2 separate regions of the Homo sapiens genome follow, and region 1 is linked to region 2. The links are contacts of gene promoters, found by promoter capture Hi-C in blood cells and fetal thymus (Javierre and others, 2016). All regions are on one chromosome and are shown on one strand. Each heading gives the region's core, a stretch centred on a gene start or on the middle of the fragment in contact. The rest is flanking DNA. Distances are from core to core; before and after follow the strand shown.

What was found. Contacts are between HindIII fragments. The CHiCAGO score rates a contact against its expected background, and 5 or more counts as called.
Region 1: a contact is called between a fragment that was not itself captured here and the fragment with the promoter of CCT2 in region 2, in 1 of 17 cell types (total CD8 T cells). The highest score is 6.4, in total CD8 T cells.

Annotation. Positions count from the first base shown.
Region 1 is chr12:66,290,705-66,296,591 of GRCh38, forward strand. It overlaps the pseudogene RN7SKP166. Among named protein-coding and RNA genes, the nearest start is that of HELB, 8.8 kb to the right of the region's middle. The HindIII fragment of the contact is 9,012 bases long and covers 1-5,887 here.
Region 2 is chr12:69,583,118-69,588,769 of GRCh38, forward strand. CCT2 (chaperonin containing TCP1 subunit 2) reads left to right here and starts at 2,342. Exons shown (of 16, transcript NM_006431.3): 1 at 2,342-2,407; 2 at 3,153-3,227; 3 at 3,636-3,701; 4 at 4,388-4,499; 5 at 4,813-4,889; 6 at 5,033-5,145. The coding sequence starts at 2,405. It overlaps MIR3913-1 (microRNA 3913-1), which reads right to left and starts at 1,706; the gene lies at 1,605-1,706. It overlaps MIR3913-2 (microRNA 3913-2), which reads left to right and starts at 1,606; the gene lies at 1,606-1,705. RefSeq lists an enhancer at 2,373-2,712. The HindIII fragment of the contact is 2,214 bases long and covers 802-3,015 here.

The DNA of each region.
Region 1 (5,887 bases), core at 731-3,230, 3.3 Mb before region 2:
GCACAGAAAAGACCCACTCCCATGATTCAGTTGCCTCCCACCAGGTTCCTCCCAAGACATGTGGGAATTACAGGTGCTGCAATTCAAGATGAGATTTGGGTGGGGACACCGCCAAGCCATATCAATGTGCTATTTATCTTAGACCCCTGTGTACAGAGTTCTTACAGGCTCATCCAGCAGCAGTGTAAAAAACAAGTAACCTTGCAATTCAAGTTATTTGTCACTTAGAGATGACAAGAGGTTGTGGTAACTTTGCAACTGTTGTGGTTTTACCCTAAGGTCCCAGAGAAGTGTGTATCTGTTTTACAAATCTCAAACAAAAGAGAGGCAACAAATCAAGGAGATTGATACTATGCTGCAGTGTATGCCTCCTCACAGCCCCAGGTTGGTTCCTGGGTGCATGCAGAGATATTTAGAACACAGAGCTGTGCCTGAACATGTAGCAGCAAAGAGCACGGTCACTGGAGCCTGACTTCTTAGGTTCAAGTCATGGTTCAGCCACTCCCAACTTTAAGCAAGTTATCTAACCTCTCAGCAGAAGTTTCCTCATAAGTAAGATAGATGCTTTAATGTTAACTATTTCATGAGGCTTTTGTGAAGAGTAAATGAGTTAATTGAAGGAGAGGACTTTGTGATGTGTGGAAAGCACAATGTAAACACTCAGTATTAGCCATTATAATTGTTGTTGTTTATAATTAAGGGAGGAAGTTAAATATATAAAATTGTTCTGTTTTCTGAGTGTGAAAGCATTGTCTTTGTACTCTCCAAATTCTGGGGTTTTTTTGTTTGTTTGTTTTCAGAAAAAAAACAAAAACAAAAACAGAGTCTTGCTCTGTCACGTAGGCTGGAGTGCAGTGGCACCATCTCCGCTAACTGCAACGTCAGCCTCCCAGATTCAAACAATTCTCCTGCCTCAGCCTCCCGAGCAGCTGGGATTATAGGTGCCTGCCACCACGCCCGGCTAATTTTTTGTATTTTTAGTAGAGAATGGGTTTCACCATGTTGGCCAGGCTGGTCTCAGACTCCTAACCTCAGGTGATCCACCCGCCTTGGCCTCCCAAAGTGCTGGGATTACAGCATGAGCCACCACTCACAGCCTATGTTTTCTTACATCAAAAATAAAATCTCAGAGATTTTGCATTCTTTAATGAATTCTGCATTGTGTAACACGAGTTATTACTGCATTATGGCTTTGTTTTTTAAAGGAGAATTTTCCAACTCTTTTGAAACTCCCCTGCATCTGCTGTCCATATCTTCATCACATTATCTTTCCACATTCTCCTTCCTGTCTCCCTTTCAGTCATTCTTTCCCTTTTTGCTCATCATTATTCCAACCTAGTTCTTCATATCTCACTTTTCTCCAATGCAGGATGATTTTCTCCCTTCTTGGCCAGAAGTGGATGTTGTATATGAAATCTTGTCACAAATGGAGGAAATTTCCAGCCATTTAAAATAAATCAGGAAAACAGACCTGCTGATCTGAATGTAGTTTATCTTTTGCAACAAGAGTGACTCTGTGGAATGCTCAAATATATTTCTATTCCAGAAAGTCAGTCTTCATCTATTGATGATTATAGATTGCATAAGCATAGCACTTTTCACATGTTCCCTGATTTGCATTCCTTCTATTCAATAATTCATTCCATAGCCCATACAACACAATATCTCATTGTCAATTTTTAATATCTCTACCTTGGTTTCAATCCATCATTCTATCTGAAATAGCAAAACCTCACTACAGTCATGCTCTGTGTTAGTTCATTTTTTGCTGCTTGTAACAGAATACTTAAAACTGGATAATTTATAAAGAAAAGGAATTTGTTTATAACTTAGAGTTATGGAGGCTGGAAAGTCTGAGGTAGAGAGAACATATCTGGTGAAAGCCTTCTTGCTGGTGGAGCAACAGGCGGCATCACATGGTGAGGGGACTGAACATGTTAGTTCAGGTCTCTCTTCTTCTCATAAAGCTACCAGTCCTGGATGTGAGGGTGATCTGTCTGTGACATCTGCCACCCCATTGATAGCCCGAGTTGACTTGGCTGATCTGGCCAGCTAGGCGGTTGTCCCCTTCCTCCCTCACCACTCCATGTGTGTCCCTCCCAAAGCTGTGCTCGGTGAAAGAGGATTACCATCCCTGATAGAAGAGGACTGGTCTTCGGTCAAGGGTATACGGGCAACTGCGCTCCCCTGCTAGAACCTCCAAACAAGCTCTCAAGGTCCACCAGTCCCACTCCCATGATAACCCATTAATCCATTGACCCATTAATCCATGAGTGGATTAATCTATTCACGAGGGAAGATACCTCATGACCCAATCACCTCTTAAATGATATGAAATGAATATACCTCATGACCCTCCTCACCTCTCAGTGCTGCCACATTGGGGATTAAGTTTCAACATGAATTTTTTTTTTCTTGAGATAGAGTGTTGTTCTGTCACCCACGCTAGAGTGCAGTGGCGCTATCTTGCCTCACTGCAACTTCCGCCTCCTGGGTTCAAGCAATTCTCGAGCTTCAGCCTCTCCATAGCTGGGATTATAGGTGTGTGCCACCACGCCTGGCTAACTTTTTGTATTTTTAGTAGAGATGGGGTTTCACCATGTTGGCCAGGCTGATCTGGAACTCCTGATCTCAAGTGATCTGCCCATCTCAGCCTCTCAAAGTGCTGGGATTACAAGCGTGAGCCATGCCGCCTGGCCCTCAACATGAATTTTGCAAGAGACAAATATTCAAACCATAGCACTCTCTATCCCCTTTCTCTCTTTTATCTTTGCTTCTGGTTCTCATCATCATTTGATATTACTTTTACTTGCTCCCTGGCTCCTTCTTAGGATGGATCCTTGCTCCTTCTTAGGATGGATCCTTGCTCCTTCTTAGGATGTACAAGGACTTGGTCTGTTTTGTTTACTGTTATTCTCCAGTACCCAGAACAGTAACTATCCTAAAATATGTATTGACTGAATAAATGAATTGTAGTCATCTACTTCTTAGTAATACTTTGCAAATGTTTGCTTTTTAAAAAGTTATACTTATCATATAGGATGAGATAAATAGTTTTCATAAAATGCCTAACAAAGACCAACATGATCAGCTAGAAACTGATCCCCAGCTCCATCTCTCTGTGGTAGCAGAGTTGATGCATTTTTGTTTTAGTGCTCACCTCAACCATGGCATGTTTGTTAGGAAAGGAGCTTCCAGAAAATGTATTTAGGAAAGCAATTCTTTTTCTTTTTCTTTTTCCTTTTTCTTTTCTTTTCTTTTCTTTTCTTTCATTTATTTTTTGGGTTAGGGTCTCACTATGTCACCCGGGCTGGAGTGCAATGGCACAATCGTAGCTCACTGAAGCCTTGAACTTCTGTCCCCAAACGATCCTGTTGCCTCAGCCTCCAAAGTAGCTGGGACTATAGGTTTGCACCGCCATGCCCAGCTTATTATTGTGTGTGTGTGTGTGTGTGTGTGTGTGTGTGTGTGTGTGGTGATGGGGTCTCTCTTTGTTGCTTAGGCTGGTCTCAAACTGCTGGCCTCAAGCAATCCTCCCACCTCGGCCTCCCACAACTCTGGAATTACTAGTGTGAGCCACCGTGCTCATTGGGAGGCAGTTCTTTTGTTTTTATTTTTATTTTTTGAGATGGAGTGTCACTCTGTCACCCAGATAGGAGTGCAGTGGCACGATCTCAGCTCACTGCAACCTCCACCTCCAAGTGATTCTCCTGCCACAGCCTCCTTAGTAGCTGGGATTACAGGCATGAACCACTGCACCTGGCCAAGGTAGTACTTTTTAACGAACATACTCTCCTACAACTTACAAACTCATATGCTGAAACAGAAATATAAAGGCATGAATTTAGCCCTACAAATGTTTTAGCATGGGTAAAAACATACATAATAATGTAAAGTAAATTGAATTGTAATTAAGGTGATTGGGGTCATTACTTTGTAACATTTAAAGGCAAAGGCTCAACACAGTGTCAATTAATTATATCAACATTTCCACTGAAACACACATACTTCCAGGAAGAAGGCATGAATGCCCTATGGAATCTTGAAGTATTGCCCAACCAACCTGTCCCCTCAAAGGTAGACTTACTTTTAAGTTTTATTCTTTACCTTATTCATGTCAATTTTTCATTTTACATAATATATCCTTATTTGTTTTAATATAAAAACAATGTATTGGCTGGGTGCTGTGGCTCACACTTGTAATTCCAGCCCACTGGGAGGCCGAGGTGGGTGGATCACCTGAGGTCAAGAGTTCAAGACCAGCCTGGCCAACATGGGGAAATCCCATCTCTACTAAAATAAAAAATAAAAAAATTAGCCGGGTGTGGTGGCGGGCACCTGCAATCCCAGCTACTCGGGAGGCTGAGGCAGGAGAATTGCTTCAACCTGGGAGACAGAGGTTGCAGTGAGCTGAGATCGTACCATTGCACTCCAGCCTGGGTGACAAGAGCGAAACTCCATCTCAAAAAAAAAAAAAAACCCAACAATGTATTCAGTAATATAATACCAGTCAATTGGACACGAGAATGCGTTTATCTTGAGTCTTTTGTTCCTTCTGGTATATTACCACTTACTGCTAGGAATCTATATTCCCAGTAAGAGAATTATGGAACAGTTATTCACCACATATAACAATGTTTTGGTTAATGATGGACTGCATTAATAGTGGTGGTCTCATAAGATTATAATAACATATTTTTACATAGCTTTCTCATATCTGGATACACAAATACCATTGACCTAGAGTTGCCTACAGGATTCAGTACAGTAACATGAAGTACAGGTTTATAGTCCAGGAATGATAGGCTATGCCATATGACCTAGGTATGTAGTAGGTTATAGAGCTAGATTTGTACACTCTATGGTGTTTGTGCAATGATGAAATCACCTAAGGATACATTTCTGAGAATGTACCCCTATCGTTAAGTGACATGTGACTGTATTGTTTCGTTTTGTTGAGACAGGTTCTCATTCTGTCACCCAGGCTGGAGTGCAGTTGTGTGATCTTGGCTTACTGCGATCTCTGCCTCCTGGGCTCAAGCAATCCTCTGACTTCCCACCTCTCACCTCCCAGTAACTGGGACCACAGTTGTGCACCACCATGCCTGGCTAATTTTTGTAGAGACAGGTTTTGCTATGTTGCCCAGGCTGGTACCAAACTCCTGGGCTCAAGCAATCCTCCCTCTTCAGCCTCCCGAAGTGCTGGGATTATAGACATGAGCCACCACACCCAGCCACACATGACTGTAGTATCAGCTTTTTGTGGCTAGGGCTTTCTGCCTCCTTATATCCCTTTTAGTGCTGCACAATGCTATCACAGTGTTTTAGCATTCAAAGTTCCTCTGAATCAATGCAGTTATCAAGTCCCTGTTTTCATTAACTTTCAATATACATATCTTCTCAATTAAATTATAGAGACTTTTTGGCAAGGGCCATTACTGTTTCCTTATGTCTTTCAACTGTATCCACCAAACGCAACTATTACATGATCACTATTGTGTCAGGAAGGATAGGCTAGGTTCTGATGACTTAAGAAACAATTCCACAACCCCAGTGCATTAAGTGCATTCATACAACAAAGATTTATTCTCATTAGTTTGAAATCTACTGTGGTTCACATAACTCTCCAGGGCAGTTGTTCATTATATGATGACTCACTGTTGAACCTCACAAAGCAAGAAATAATCAGAGGTGGAGAATTGGTCACCCCCAATTAAATGCTTCTACCCTGAAGTGACATGTTGCTCTCATTTCATTGGTCAAAGTAAGTCAGATGGTCATGATGAATTTCAAATAGATGGGGAAGTACAATGCTACTGTGTGTCTAGAAAGAGGAGAATTCACTATCAGTGGATACTAGTACTACATGCTGTTTGTATGTATGTCT
Region 2 (5,652 bases), core at 1,092-3,591:
TCACGCTCTGAATGGCCTTCAATGAACTGATTTAAAGAGCCTGTGAAACCCACCCAAGACTACAAAGCTAGTACGTAAAATGGTTGAAATTCAAACTCATATAGTCTGGGTCTAGAAGCTGAGTGTTTAGCCTCTAGGTGTAGAGGTGTCATCAAAGGAGGGGGAAGTAGGAAAGAAGGAAGGGTCAAAAGATGCAATGGAGAAAGGACACATTTCCAAGGGTCCCATCATAGAGTCTCTTCCTGGCTGCCTCTAGCCTCAGTTCCACAAGGTGGCAGGGCCTGCCTCCTTCTCCCCATCCAAATGCCTCTGGCTACATTCAAAGCCCAGCAGGGAGCAGTCATTGGTTTCCCCATCACACACAGTCTCAGGCTTGCCTACCAGAGGACATAATAAATATCTCCAGGTATGTAATTTTGCCCACAATAAAAACAACCTTTTTCAATATTGTGCAGGCATCTTAGTTTTTTATTGTGAATCTTCTCATTCCAGAATGCGATTTGGGATCTGCCTAGGAAAGTACATTTCCTGAAAGAAGACCAAATTTTCCTACAAAGAAGAGAAAACTCTTGGGAGATTTAAAATAACAATTTGTCCAGCCTGAACTCCCCTTTTCATGTTGGACCTGAGGAATACTGTAAACCAGGGTCAGCAAACTTTTTCTGTAAAGAATTAGATAATACATGTTTTAGGTTTTGTGGGCCCATTCAACCTGTCATGACTACTCAACTCTGCCACATAACTCTGCTATCGTATTGTGACAGAGTAAATATGTATGGGTATGCCCATGGATTCCAATGAAGCTTTATGGACACTGAAATATTAATTTCACAGGATTTTCATGTGTCAGGAAATTTTTGATTTCTTTCAACCACTTAAAAATGTAAAAACTATTCTTAGCTCTCAGGCCATACAAAAAACAACTGGCAGGCTGGGTTTGACTCCTCACAGCTTGCCAACCCCTGGTGGAAATCAACCCACTTAGAGGAAATCTGAAGGGTAGAAACAACTAAAAAATTGAAAATTCCTGTTAATGTTAGCAATGTCAAAAATCCAGGAGACCCCAGCTACTCAGGAGACCAAGGCAGGAAGATTGCTTGAGCCCAGGAGTTCCAGGCCAGCCTGGGCAACATAGAAGACCCCATCTCTAAAAAAAACAAAACAGAAAAAGAAAAATCCAGGAGCTTGTTTTGTTTTGTTTTTGTTTTGAGACAGAGTCTCGCTCTGTTGCCCAGGCTGGAGTGCAGCGGCGTGATCTCGGCTCACTGAAACCTCTGCCTCCCGGGTTCAAGCAATTATCCTGCCTCAGCCTCCTGAGTAGCTGGGATTACGGGCATGCACACCACGCCCGGCTAATTTTTGTATTTTCAGTAGAGACAGGGTTTCACCATGTTGGCCAGGCTGGTCTCCAACTCCTGACCTCAGGTGATCCGCCCACCTCGGCCTCCCAAAGTGCTGGGATTACAGGGGTGAGCCACCGCGCCCTGCCGAGGAGCTTAAGCGATCAGTTAGTCAAAGGGAGAAAAGAGGGTATCAGTAGATGACAGAAAAATTTTTTAGAGAACAAATTTTTAGACATCCGTCAACTTAGAGAAAGTAGAAAACTGTCTATAATAAACTGAAATATTTGGGACTGATCTTGATGTCTGCCAAGGTTTTGGCAGACATCAAGATCAGTCCCAAATATTTCAGTTTATTATAAACAAAGACTAATAAGTCGTCTCTACTATTGGAGGAAAAAAAAAAAAAAGACCGAAATGCAAAAATTCCTGAAAATGAGTAAATAGGGCAAAGATAAAATACTATAAATGTCTCTCTCAGTTCACAAGACCTTATCCTGGGCAGTCAACGTCCAGTTAGAAATAACGTCTGAAAATTCAGTAAGAGAAAAGGAAGTCTTCTTCTGTAATACTCAGTAAATAATGTTTAAAATTAACATAGCAATAATATTATCTGGGAATATGATAGTAAATAGCCCCTCCAAAAAACTGAAAAAGTTGAAAGCAGTTTTCCTGGAGACAGGAAGTGGTGAGGCAGATAAATTATGTTTTTCCTTATTGGTATATAACACTTTAAACTGTGTACATGTGTGACTTTAATAGAAGTGTTTAAAGATTAAATTTAAGAAAATAAAAAGTGTGAGCAAGAACTCCATTTCTATGGCAACCCGCGCGGCAGCCGCCTCTTTGTTCTGGAGCGGCGGCCACGCCCCCTCCAGTGTGAAAGGCTGCGTTTCCGGCCCGTGGGGCTCCAATCAAAATGGGACGCCTGCTGGCGGTAACGACAGGCCGGGGCCCCGCCCCCCGAAGTAGGGCGTGTGGCGTCACTTCCGGCTTCCTTCAGTCCGCTGGTCCCGAGCACGAGCTGTGAGGGGATTCACTTGTGTGCGGAACTCCTCGGAACCATGGTGAGCCTGACTCCCCTGCCTCTTGCCCTACCCCTGCTCCGCCGTGCTCTTGCCACCCCACTGCTTCCTCTGTCCTGCTAGGGTCGTAGGCTCCGTTTCTGTCTCCCCGGCCCTCCGCACATGGTGCGAGCCATGCGCGGGGCGTGCGGCCTGCGCCAGGCCAGCCGGTGGAGCTCACCACGAGGGGGAGGGGTGGACCGCAAAGCCAGCGTCTCCTTGTGCCTAGGTCTTTGCATAGTCCCGGCAGCCCAGGTCCGCGCCTCACCCGGAGCGAAGAAATTTCTAGTGTGGGACCCGCTCCGCCCTCCTTCTAGGGGCGGAGCCTGGAGCGACGGGGTCTGAGCCATCAGAGGGTGGAGGGGCCGCAGCCTTCCGAGGGTGGAAGATGGAGGCCGCGTTCCCTCGCCCGCCCGGCAGGCGTCACCTTGATGGCCTGCAACCCCTCCCTGCCTCATTCTTAGTTCAAGATCGTCTTTAGTCTCGCTGTACGTAACTGTCAATCTCGCTGGTGTATAATTTATACTCCCGGGGGCCTTGTAAATCCGAAAAGCCATGTCGCTCTCCTACAAGTCCCTCTCTCCCACTTAAATGCTTTCTCCGATGATGGAAGCTTCATTTGATTGAAAACATTGTTGTAAATGAGTTTTCTCTTAGATGTCCACTTGTAAGACTAGTGGAAGGCACCTCAGTGTATGTGTTAGAGTATTGGTACTTAAACGGAATGCCTCTTGGTTTTCCTTTTCAGGCGTCCCTTTCCCTTGCACCTGTTAACATCTTTAAGGCAGGAGCTGATGAAGAGAGAGCAGAGACAGCTCGTCTGGTAAGCCTTGTTCTAAGCATTGTTTTAAAGATAAAACTGGAGGCCAGGCGCGGTGGCTTACTCCTGTAATCCCAGTACTTTGGGAGGCCGAGGTAGGCGGATGAACTGAGGTCAGGAGTTCGAGACCAGCCTGGCCAACATGGTAAAACCCCGTTTCTACTAGAAATACAAAAATTAGCCGGGCGTGGTGATGGGCACCTGTAATCCCAGCTACTCGGGAGGCTGAGGCAGGAGGATCGCTTGAACCCAGGAGGCGGAGGTTGCAGTGAGCTGAGATCGCGCCATTGCACTCCAGCCTGGGCGACAGAGCGACACTCTGCCTCAAAAAAAAAAAAAAGTAAATAAAGATAAAACTGTACTTGAAGACTGTAAAGTTGATTCTGATAATCTCCTTGGTTTTTACTCCAGACTTCTTTTATTGGTGCCATCGCCATTGGAGACTTGGTAAAGAGCACCTTGGGACCCAAAGGCATGGTAAGAAAAATAGAAAAGTTTTATATTTTAATATTGTTTTAGAGCGCTTGGTGGAAATATAATAACAAGCGTATTAAAATGCTTTTTAATCTTTAAAACGTTTAATTATAAAAGACAAGTATGTTCTCCTTAGTAAAAATCAGAGTCCCCAGAATCACCATCCCCAATCCCATGCCCCTCCCCAATGACAAGTACTGTTATCATTTGCACGTACATCTTCTAATATTCTGTTTATGTAGAAGTATGTGTACTTCATTATGTATTTTATACTCATGTAACATACTGTTTTATAAAACAGATACTATTTATCAATACTTTTTTGTAGCTTGCTCTTTTAAATTCCTTTCAGTGTAAGTAGATAACACTGCCCCTTTAACTGTCAAATATTATCCTGTACCTTAATTATTTTATAATTTAATTATGGCTGTATTGATAGTTTCTTTCCATTGTTTTTGCAGTTACGGTGTTGAAACAAAAACTAGTGTCTACCTGTGCTTCTAGTGTTTCTAGGGGTAGATACATGGTTTGGTTACGTGGTGTATGTATTGAAAACATTTGATGAATGGATACCACAAAATAGCTATCCAGAGTGTTTATACACTAGCACTGTGTGAGAATACTGATTGATCCATGCATTCTTCAAGATGTGCTTATGTCTTAACTTGAACCAATTATGTTCCCTTTAGGACAAAATTCTTCTAAGCAGTGGACGAGATGCCTCTCTTATGGTAACCAATGATGGTGCCACTATTCTAAAAAACATTGGTGTTGACAATCCAGCAGCTAAAGTTTTAGTTGGTAAGTCTGAATATACTTTTTCACCAACCTAATAATACTGTTTGTTAACATTTTTGAAATAACTTTATAAATAGGCTGTGTTGACCAATCGTACTGTCAATTGATGTCCACTAGTTGTTAATTATCGTTGTTAAAATACAAGCTTCAGGAGTGCCCGTATGTTGGTGGTAAAACTGTTGCATTTCAGACCTCAGAGTTCCAAATAATTTGTTGAATGAGGAACCCTGGTAAGTTTAGATTGGTAGTGAATATTTTTGGAGAATTTAGTAAGCAAAGAAGCAATTTTGAGTTAATAACTAATTTCTTTTTCTAGATATGTCAAGGGTTCAAGATGATGAAGTTGGTGATGGCACTACCTCTGTTACCGTTTTAGCAGCAGAATTATTAAGGGTAAGAGCAACTAAGCAACTCTTTTTTCCTACTGTGTTTTTGAGTATCAGAGGTAATCTAGTCCTTACTTCCTCTGTCTTTACTATTGAGGAGTGCTTAATAATTTTCTATTTATAACTTTTGTTTTATAACTTTATTAATAGGAAGCAGAATCTTTAATTGCAAAAAAGATTCATCCACAGACCATCATAGCGGGTTGGAGAGAAGCCACGAAGGCTGCAAGAGAGGCGCTGTTGAGTTCTGCAGTTGATCATGGGTTTGTATAGCAAAGTACTACTGTTCTAAACATTTAGTGTTCTTTCATAACATGCTTAATGCAAGAAATCTATAGGACACTGAAAAGCATACACAAAGATCATCTTGCTGCCTCACCCCACTCCAACAGTCAAACCTACATCAGCCTCCAGAGATAGCCACTAAAGTTAAGTTTGGGTTTTTAGTCTTTTTGTATATATCATCAAAATATACAAATAAAGCAAATAGTATAATACTGTATAGAGAATTTGTTAGCCTCTTTTTAACCTAGTTAAATATTAAGCACATTTTTGGATGTCAATTTTCTGTGCAGTATTTTAATAGAGTTACACATTTGAATATTTGGCTAGAATGACTGTATTAACCTATCTGTAGGGGGAGATTTGTGTATTTGATGATTTTTAGCATTATAAAATAACTTTGTGACGTTGCGACATAGCCCAAAGGTTTCTAGAAGTGTAATTGTTGGGTCCAAAGGTAAGTGTGTGTGTTTTAAGGCACCCCCAAA